Regions from separate parts of the Homo sapiens genome. Here regions 2 and 3 are each linked to region 1. The links are contacts of gene promoters, found by promoter capture Hi-C in blood cells and fetal thymus (Javierre and others, 2016). All regions are on one chromosome and are shown on one strand. Each heading gives the region's core, a stretch centred on a gene start or on the middle of the fragment in contact. The rest is flanking DNA. Distances are from core to core; before and after follow the strand shown. Region 1 holds the start of VPS18 (VPS18 core subunit of CORVET and HOPS complexes). Region 2 overlaps INO80 (INO80 complex ATPase subunit). Region 3 overlaps INO80 (INO80 complex ATPase subunit).

The links. Contacts are between HindIII fragments. The CHiCAGO score rates a contact against its expected background, and 5 or more counts as called.
Region 2: a fragment that was not itself captured here is called in contact with the fragment with the promoter of VPS18 in region 1 in 4 of 17 cell types (M1 macrophages, M2 macrophages, M0 macrophages and 1 more); the score reaches 7.3 in M1 macrophages.
Region 3: a contact is called between a fragment that was not itself captured here and the fragment with the promoter of VPS18 in region 1, in 12 of 17 cell types (megakaryocytes, monocytes, erythroblasts and 9 more). The highest score is 11.0, in megakaryocytes.

Annotation. Positions count from the first base shown.
Region 1 is chr15:40,893,119-40,896,073 of GRCh38, forward strand. VPS18 (VPS18 core subunit of CORVET and HOPS complexes) reads left to right here and starts at 1,332. Exons shown (of 5, transcript NM_020857.3): 1 at 1,332-1,741; 2 at 2,820-2,955. The coding sequence starts at 1,651. RefSeq lists a silencer at 1,048-1,217 and an enhancer at 2,058-2,147. The HindIII fragment of the contact is 16,460 bases long and covers 1-2,955 here.
Region 2 is chr15:40,988,897-40,991,733 of GRCh38, forward strand. The region is part of intron 29 of INO80 (INO80 complex ATPase subunit); the gene reads right to left. Among named protein-coding and RNA genes, the nearest start is that of INO80-AS1, 26 kb to the right of the region's middle. The HindIII fragment of the contact is 1,020 bases long and covers 1,054-2,073 here.
Region 3 is chr15:41,005,846-41,008,746 of GRCh38, forward strand. All of the region lies in intron 27 of INO80 (INO80 complex ATPase subunit), which reads right to left. Among named protein-coding and RNA genes, the nearest start is that of INO80-AS1, 9.5 kb to the right of the region's middle. The HindIII fragment of the contact is 2,234 bases long and covers 290-2,523 here.

The sequences.
Region 1 (2,955 bases), core at 82-2,581:
GTCACCTGCCCCAGGACTAGTGCCCCTCCAAGCCAGAGAGCCCAGATAGCCCTCAGTGGGGCTGGTGAGAGTCACAGTTCTCCGCACGTGGCCAGGAAGTTGAGCAAGAGTAACCCAACCACATAAGGTATGGTGCAAACCTGGAAACTTCTGAGAGCAAAGGGATGCTCTTAGTTGTTAGGCGGGGGCCGCCCAGCAGAGCCAGGACGGTGGCGACCCTAGTCCAGAGCCTTCCACTTTAGCAAGGTAGAATCCAAGGGCCCCAGAAGGGAACAGACTCCATCTGGGTCGCCTAAGCAGGTGAGAGAGGAAAACCCAACCACAGTCGCGCCCCAGCCCTCGCAGGTCCCTGGCTGAGGACTCCCCTCTCCACCTCAGGCTGGGCGGCCCCCGCCTTCACGCTTGCTCCCACTTGTCCCTCGTTCTTGCTAGGCTTGGCAGGTATTTGTTCCCTGCTCCTTCACGCTCTCAGTGCCGTGGCCACGTCGCTGGGTACGCCCCACCAGGCAAGAGACATTTTCCGTCTTGTTCTCTGCCACGTCCCCAGAGCCTGGAACAGTGCTTGGCACAGAGTGGACGCTCATTCGTGGAGTAAGTGCCTGATGGATAATCCATCACTTGCTTTTCTAGTATGAATGGTCTATTTACGGGTCCAGCGCCCCTGCTGGCTTACGACCTTTTCCAGGGCGGGGAGGGGCTGTCCTCATCTCTGTGACCCCAGCGCCCAGCCCAAGGCCTGGCACAGAGTAAGTGCTCAACCACATTTTGGTGAATGAGTGAATGGAAGCGGCCCAGCAACCCTGAGCCAAGGAGCCACTGTGGGGCAGGTCAGGGCGGTTCCTGGCACAGGGCTTCCCACTAGCCTGGCCACCAGCTCTGCGGTCTCCTGGAAGCTGGGGGGCCTTTGGGTAAGGGAGAAGAGTGGCCAGGAGTTGTCTGCGTGTGCCCTGTGACGGTGGGATAGAGACAGCGATTGGATTGAGGAACGGGAGGTTCCCCGAGGCTGTTTAGAGAGGCGGGAGCGGGAGCTGGTCAGGGAGGCTGGACAGACCACCCGAGGGAGCGGAGCTTGGGCACGAAAGCCAAAACTGGGCGGCGCGGGGCGGGTGGGGAAGGCCGGCTGAGAAAGCCGGGATTGCCTCCTGGTGTCAAAGCTCGGAACTGCAGCAGGATCCTGGGGGCGGGGCTTGTGTTCAGCAGCACTCGCCACGCGCCCAGCCCTCAGCCCTCGTCTCGCCTTCTGCTGGCTGGCCCGGCGACGTTGTGCGCCAGCGTACGCGGGGCTCTGAGAACCCGGAAGTTACGTTTTAGGCCCGCGTCACGGGGGCGGGAGTCAGCTGAGCTGCCGGGGCGAGGTTGGGATCACCTGGCACCGGCTGAAGGGAGCCTGTGATTTTTTTGTAGCGGGGGCGGGGAGTAAGGTGCAAGACTGCGCCAGATTCAAGGACGAGGGCTGCCCGATTATCTCGCTGCATAAGGCAAGAGCAAGAGGATCCTCAGGATTTTAAAGAGGAGGCGACGGCTGCAGGTTCCCAGGATCTGTCAGAGGCTGGGGAGTTACAGCTTCCATTCTGGGGCGACGGGGACCCCGGGGGGGTAGCCCTTTTGTAATCCCCAGGCCCCGGACAAAGAGCCCAGAGGCCGGGCACCATGGCGTCCATCCTGGATGAGTACGAGAACTCGCTGTCCCGCTCGGCCGTCTTGCAGCCCGGCTGCCCTAGCGTGGGCATCCCCCACTCGGGTAAGGAAGAGGAGGGTGCCGCTGCCCCTTTCGGCTCTCCTAGCATTTGCGTGGGAGCAGCGAGGAGGGCAGCTCCAAGAGCTCGGGGTCATCCCCTGGGCCGTGCCTTCCGGGTCTAGGCCCCTGATTCTCCTCAGGCTCTCTTGGCCCCCAGCTGGTGGATAGTCGAAGTTTGAAAGAGCAACGGGAGCTGCCGCGTGATCTAGGCTCTACCGCTAGGGTCCTTTTGAGAGGGAATTGGGGCCCAGATAAGGAATTACTCACCTACAGGGCGCAGTTGGGCTGTTGGGAGAACTTAGAATGGGCTCCCGGCTTCTGCTGATGCTTTTCCCACCAGGCCCCTTCTGGAGGTGGGAGGGAAGGAATGGACAAAGAAAGTGGTGAAGGCGGAGTATTGCAGAGGAAGAAGGGAGGGTCCCAGAGGGAATTTTGTCGCTGAACGGGGAAAATGGAGATGAAATCTTTTTGGCCTTGGCTATAGCTGGGTGCAGCCTGGAGTTTGGGGACGTTTTTGTAGAAAGTAGTGAGTCTCCAGGAGAATGAGGGCATAGGGAGCCCTGGGGAACTGTTCCAGTGAGTGGAGTTAACGAATTGGAGCTGCTTTCACTCTAGTCTTTACCTTCATTCAATGCTCAAAATATCCCAGCACTTGCCAACTCTACACTGAGGCTCATTACCGCATGGGCAGGGAGGGGGGCAGAGAATGGGGCTATACTACTTCAGTTAAGCTGGGATTGCTGGGCCAAAGACCTGATAAGGGAGAATACCCAGACCACCAGTCCCGTCCCACCTCCACGCAGCCCCATTACCAGTGGGAGCAGGTATATCATGCTGTGACAGCATCTTAAGGGTTCAAAGAATCAACCCCTCACTGCTGTCAGAGTGTGGAAAGAGCTCCAGACCTCTATTGTAAAGGTGACCAGCAAACGACTTGATATCAAACTATTTGTTAACCAAGGTCCTGGGGATAGGAATATGTCAGGAAAGTGGCGAGGAGCACTGTGGTGTTTTTTCTGCCTCTCCTTGCCCTTCACCTGTCTCTTCCACAGCTAATCTTCTTGTCATTCCTTACCTGTAGGGTATGTGAATGCCCAGCTGGAGAAGGAAGTGCCCATCTTCACAAAGCAGCGCATTGACTTCACCCCTTCCGAGCGCATTACCAGTCTTGTCGTCTCCAGCAATCAGCTGTGCATGAGCCTGGGCAAGGATACACT
Region 2 (2,837 bases), core at 314-2,813, 96 kb after region 1:
CCCAGCTATCTGGGAGGCTAAGGCAGGGGAATTGTTTGAACCTGGGAGGCAGAGGTTGCAGTGAGCCGACACTGCATCACTGCACTCCAGCCTGGGCGACACAGTGAGCCTCCGTCTCAAAAAAAAAAAAAAATTAGCCAGGTGTGGTGGCAGGCACCTGTGGTCCCAGCTACTCAGGAGGCTGAGGCAGGAGAATTGCTTGAACCCAGGAGGCGGGGAGTACAGTGAGCTGAGATCATGCCATTGCACTCCAGCCTGGGCAACAAGAGAGAAACTCTGTCACAAAACAAAACACTGGGGCTATGCTGGAAACAGGCATGGCTTTCCCTAGAATTCTCAGGCTCTCATCAACAGTCATTTACTAGCCCATGAATTCCCAGGATGGAATGTTTAAAGGGTTCTCTGGAAGTGACTTCTAGTTTGCTGAGCAACAAACAAATTAACAACAAAATATATCACCACTAAGTGAGTGATCCTAAAACAAACTCCTCAGTCCTCAACCCTTGAGGCTACCATCCAACATGGCGGACCAGTTCAAAATGGCCCTCATATCTCATGTGTTGTCCTTTATATCCAATCAAAAGTCACCAAATCCAGCCACTGCTTCAAAAATGAACCTGTCCTTTCTACTGTAACAATCCCACTGTTTCCATTCTAGACCAGGCCCTCACAACCTACATCTGGATTAGCACTCTGTTACATCAGCAGGACTCTTAGATCTCGGTCTCTTTCCTCTTCAGTCTACCTTGGCTACCACTGTGGGCCACTCCAGCTCTCTGCCAGTTACACACCTGCCTCAGCCTCCTGAGTAGCTGAGATCACAGGTGCCTGCCACCATGTCCAAACTCTCCTAAATAATCAGGCCCTGCTATAGAGAGCCAACTTTATTTTCTATTCTTTCCTAACACAAATATGCCCTTTCCCTTTAGTCAGATGGGTCTCTTCAGTGGTCCTGGCTTATAATACATTTGTGTACACCTCTTATTGCTCAAGCTGTTTCTCTGAACTAGAATCCCAAAACTCTTCTTTATTGGTCCTTTCAGGTTTAGTTCAAGCTTCTAGGAAGCTCGCCCTGTTTTCTCTTGCCTATAATAATGTCTCCTTTTCTTTTCTTATCCCTATTCCCCCTGGATTCCTATTAGAAATAATAATGGCTAAAATTTGTTGGGTACTTATGAGCCCAGGACTAGTATGCATATATCTCTCACTGAATTCTAAAAAAAAAAAAATCCTATGTCTATCCTCCATCTTACAAGCAAGGAAGAGACTGGTCTGAAATCACAGCAAGGGGCTGGGGTGGGGAGTGACCTAACAGTCTCCCTCCACAACCTACAGTAGTAACAAAACTTGGCATTGCCTACCTACCTTGGTCCAAGTCCCCACTTAATCACTAACTTCTATGGTGTCAATTATTTCATGTGTACTATTTGAAAGAGTGAGTCATCTTTCTTGAAACTGTTTCTGTCTCTCTTTTTCTTTTCTGAGACAGGGTCTTGCTCTGTCATCCAGGCTGAAGTACAGTGGCATGATCTTGGCTCACTGCAGCCCCAAACTCCTGGGCTCAAGCAATCCTACCATCTCAGCTTCCCAAAGTGTTGGAATTACAGGTATGAGCCACTGCACCTGGCCAAAATGGTTTCCCTCCATTTTTAGCACAGGTTAGAATCCTTGGGAAGAACAATGTAAACTGCTGGCGAAAGAAAGTCACCGTGAATGCTTATTGTTAATCTAGTGTCCTGCAAACCTAAGATTTAGAAGTGCACAATGCTTGTTGCCTCTAGAGGAACTTAACAAACCTGACCACACGACATTTTGGTTTCAAAGAGGACATAAGAACTTCCAGAAGACCAAGTTTGAACTAGAAGACCAAGTTTGAACTTTCAGGGAGAACAGAGCTAACAAAAGTGAAGACCTTCAGTTGGACTAGAGGATAACATTACTTGCCCAGTGTATTTTTTTCATCTTTTTTTCTGGTTCATGTTGTCCCATGATGCCCAATGTATTTAAAATGACCACAAATGTGGAATTTGAGGGCTGATGTCACACCCAAAAGACAGTATCTTGAGCTGTCTAAGCTTGAGGCTATGGTTCAGCACGAATTCATAATGTGGGGATGTGGGTGGTGGAGGTGGGTGGAGGGAGAGCCATATAATGAATTGTTTCATAAGTACTGTCTTAACATTTACATTTTTTCCTAGAAGACCCAGTGGCAACCAAACCTGATTCAACTTGTGTTCTTTTGAGCTCATGAACAGTAAGATTAAAGCCTAAGGAGATGGGTTTACAATCTTAACTTCAAAAATCTCCAAATATGGAAGATATTTATCCTTTACATGGATTCCAAGAGGTGGGGAATTTGGGAGGAAAACAGAAAAAAATAGGATTGTTTAGAAAAATACCTGTGCAGCGGAAAATATGAAATACGTACAAACTAATAGGTTAAGAACAAGAGTGAGAGAACTAAAAACCAAGGCAGATGTATGGTTACCATCTAATCTAACACTGAATTAACCGTGATGTGAACTGGAGGGAGTGGTGAGGGAGACAATGCACCACTGTGGAACAGGGATGATGCCTATATTTGGCAGTTGGGTTTATGGAGCTCAGTGAGACATTCCAGAAAAAAACAAGTAACAATTAAAGGATTAGAACAACTGATTTAACTAGGAAAGATTAAGGCAAGTCAATCCACAAAGCGTGGCCCAGCAGTGACTAAGGAGAAATAGTAGTCAATGCCTTCATGACATTGTAAACACCAAGCAGGGCAGGCACAAGGGAAGAGAGGTGAGAGTTACCATGCGGTAGAGGGGCCTGGCTGTATAGGTCAGTGAGAAGGA
Region 3 (2,901 bases), core at 157-2,656, 110 kb after region 1:
GTAAATGAGTTTACTGCCAATGTGTGAAAATCCAGGGCAATCTGAAGATTATAATCACTCTCAATTTCAGTTTGGAACCTAATCTTATTCCTGTAAATTCCTGTAGGTTTCATTAAAAAAAAAAAAAAAAAAAATTCCACAAACCAAAATAGTTTTTCAGTCATCAACCAGATATCTTTCACAGCTATGAAAATACCTACTTTTTTTGTCAGTGAATAACATTCACTGAAACGAATGTGTTTCCCCAGAGCAAACCTTTACTGATTAAAATGCTTAAATTTACAGCCTAAGCTTCCTTCTCCCAACAGAGCATGCATCACTGTTATGGGAGGCCTAAGCATCAGAGTAAAACAAAAGACAAGGTAATTTTCTATGGCAGAGAATGTTCTTGACATCATCAAGAGGAATTACAACTTTTAAGAATGAAGAGACTCCAAAAGATACAATAGAGAGACTGCCTCTCCATTCTTAGAAATTGCAATTCTTCTTATAGTTATGTCCAAATGAACATTTATTTCCTCTTTTGTTATCTCTGATTATGCTACAAAAAGTCCACTTGTAGAAGAACTAGTATCAAAAACTCAACACAGCTGCCTATTTATAAGAAACAGCATAAAATAGTTGATTCGGTTCTAAAATAACTTCTCTATTGAAAAAGACTAATCATTTCTACATTTGGGAAATGTTTGTGTTAATTAGTTTTCTGTGGTCAAATGTTCTTATACTGCAATATTTTCATATGTAACTCTTATACTTGGTGGGGCATTTTAGCACATCAGGTTGCTGTAGTTTGGAATATCTGGTGCAGCGTATGTGACAGCCTATTCTTAGATGGAGTGAGTGCCAAGAACTTGGCAGAGGTCTCTGGCTAGGGTACATGTGAAGCGAAGCTGGTCAACAAAGTAGACAAGCTCATTGACATATGCATCTTCATTGTGTTTTATATTTGGTTTAATTTTGATTTTTTAATTTTTTACCATTTCTGTCTCAAAGTGGTTCCTTAAGAGCTGTGATAATCAAAGAGAAGCATAAAATAAAGTGAGCTTCAAGTTCATACTTAGTGGTATTGCTATATCGTAGGACTGAACTAATGGCAGAAGGGTAGGGGGCGTTTTGGATAAAAAGGACTTCAAGAAAGAAGGTATAAAATGATAGCAAGATGATGGTCCTTAGAGGCTTGCTATACCTTTTGCAGCTAATCCAATCACAGAACGTTGCAATCAGAACAACAAAGTAACTAGACAATACCAAGACAGTTTACAGAGACACCCAAAACACAGATTATAATTTTAGCAAAAAGGTAGGCTTCCTGCACAGGCACTCTTTTTTTTTTTTTCTTTTTTTTTTTTTTTTTTTTAGACACTGTCTTGCTCGTCACCCAAGCTGGAGTGCAGTGGCACAATCGTGGTTCACTGCAACCTCCTCCTCCCAGGTTCAAGCGATTCTCCTGCCTCAGCCTCCCTAGCAGCTGGGATTACAGGCAACTGCCACCACACCTGGCTAATTTTTCTATTTTTAGTAGAGATGGGGTTTCGCCATGTTGGCCAGGCTGGTCTTGAACTCCTGACCTCAGGTGATCTGCCCACCTCAGCCTCCCAAAGTGTTGGGATTACAGGTGTGACCCACTGAGCCAAGCCTGATTTGCCTTTTAAACTGAACTTCTAGCCTCATAAAAGCATTGATGAATGAATCTTCTAGTAAATTTTGCTGTTTATATATTTATATATCAAGGCCAGCACAACCCCGGGGATATTAATCCTAGACCATAATCAAACCAACCCTGATTATAGAGAGCCTGTTACTGAGGCAACAGAAGTGAATTATTCCCTTCCACTGCTTCAAGTCTTAGCTCTTGAACTAAGACGAGCAGTGGGACTTCAGGCTTTAGTAAATTTAGAGTCTATTTCAGTAAATAGCTTCAAAAAAAAAAAAAACAAGAAAATGGACATGGAAAGATGTGTTAAAAGGCTGAATAGAGCGACATCTACATCCTCACACTATAGGAAAACACCTAAAAGACAAAGGTTGGGGCCAGGTATGGTGGTTGGCTGGACGAAGTGGCTCACGCCTGTAATCCCAGCACTGTGGAAGGTCGAGGTGGGTGGATCACTTGAGATCAAGAGTTCGAGACAAGCCTGGCCAACATGGCGAAACCCCATCTCTACTGAAAATACAAAAATTAGCTGGGTGTGCTGGTATGTGCCTGTAGTCCCAGCTACTCAGGAGGCTGAGGTGGGAAGATCATCTGAGCCCAGGGAGTTTGAGGCTGCAGTGAGCCAAGATCATGCCACAGCACTGCAGCCTGGGCAACAGGGTGATTGTCTCAAAATAAACAAACAAAACAGGTGAATGGATAAAGAATATGTGATATATATACATACACACACACACACACACACACACACACACGAATATTATTCAGCCTTAAAAAGAAGGAAATCAACATGAATAAACCTGATTCTGTTAAGTAAAATATGCCAGACATGGAAAGACAAATACTGCATGGTTCAACTTATATGTGCAAGCTTAAAAAGTTAAAACTCATAAAAGTAGAGAGTAGAAGGGTGGTTGCCAGGGGGTAGGGGAAATGGGGAGATGTTGGTCAAAGGGTACAAAGGTTCAGTTATGCAAAATGAAAAAATCCTGGAGATCTAATGTACATCATGGTAACTAGAGCTAATAATATTGTATCGTATATGTGAACTCTTCTAAGAGAGACAATATCACATGGTCGACCTTAAATATATACAATTTTTATTTATCAAGCATACATCAATAAAGCTGTAGCTGGAAAAAGCTTCAAAGATTATTCTGATAGCCTATATCAGCAGCTGAGAGCAACCACTAGAAAGGGAAGGCAAGGCAGTTTCCCTTTGAACCTTGCCATTCAGCATGGCCCTC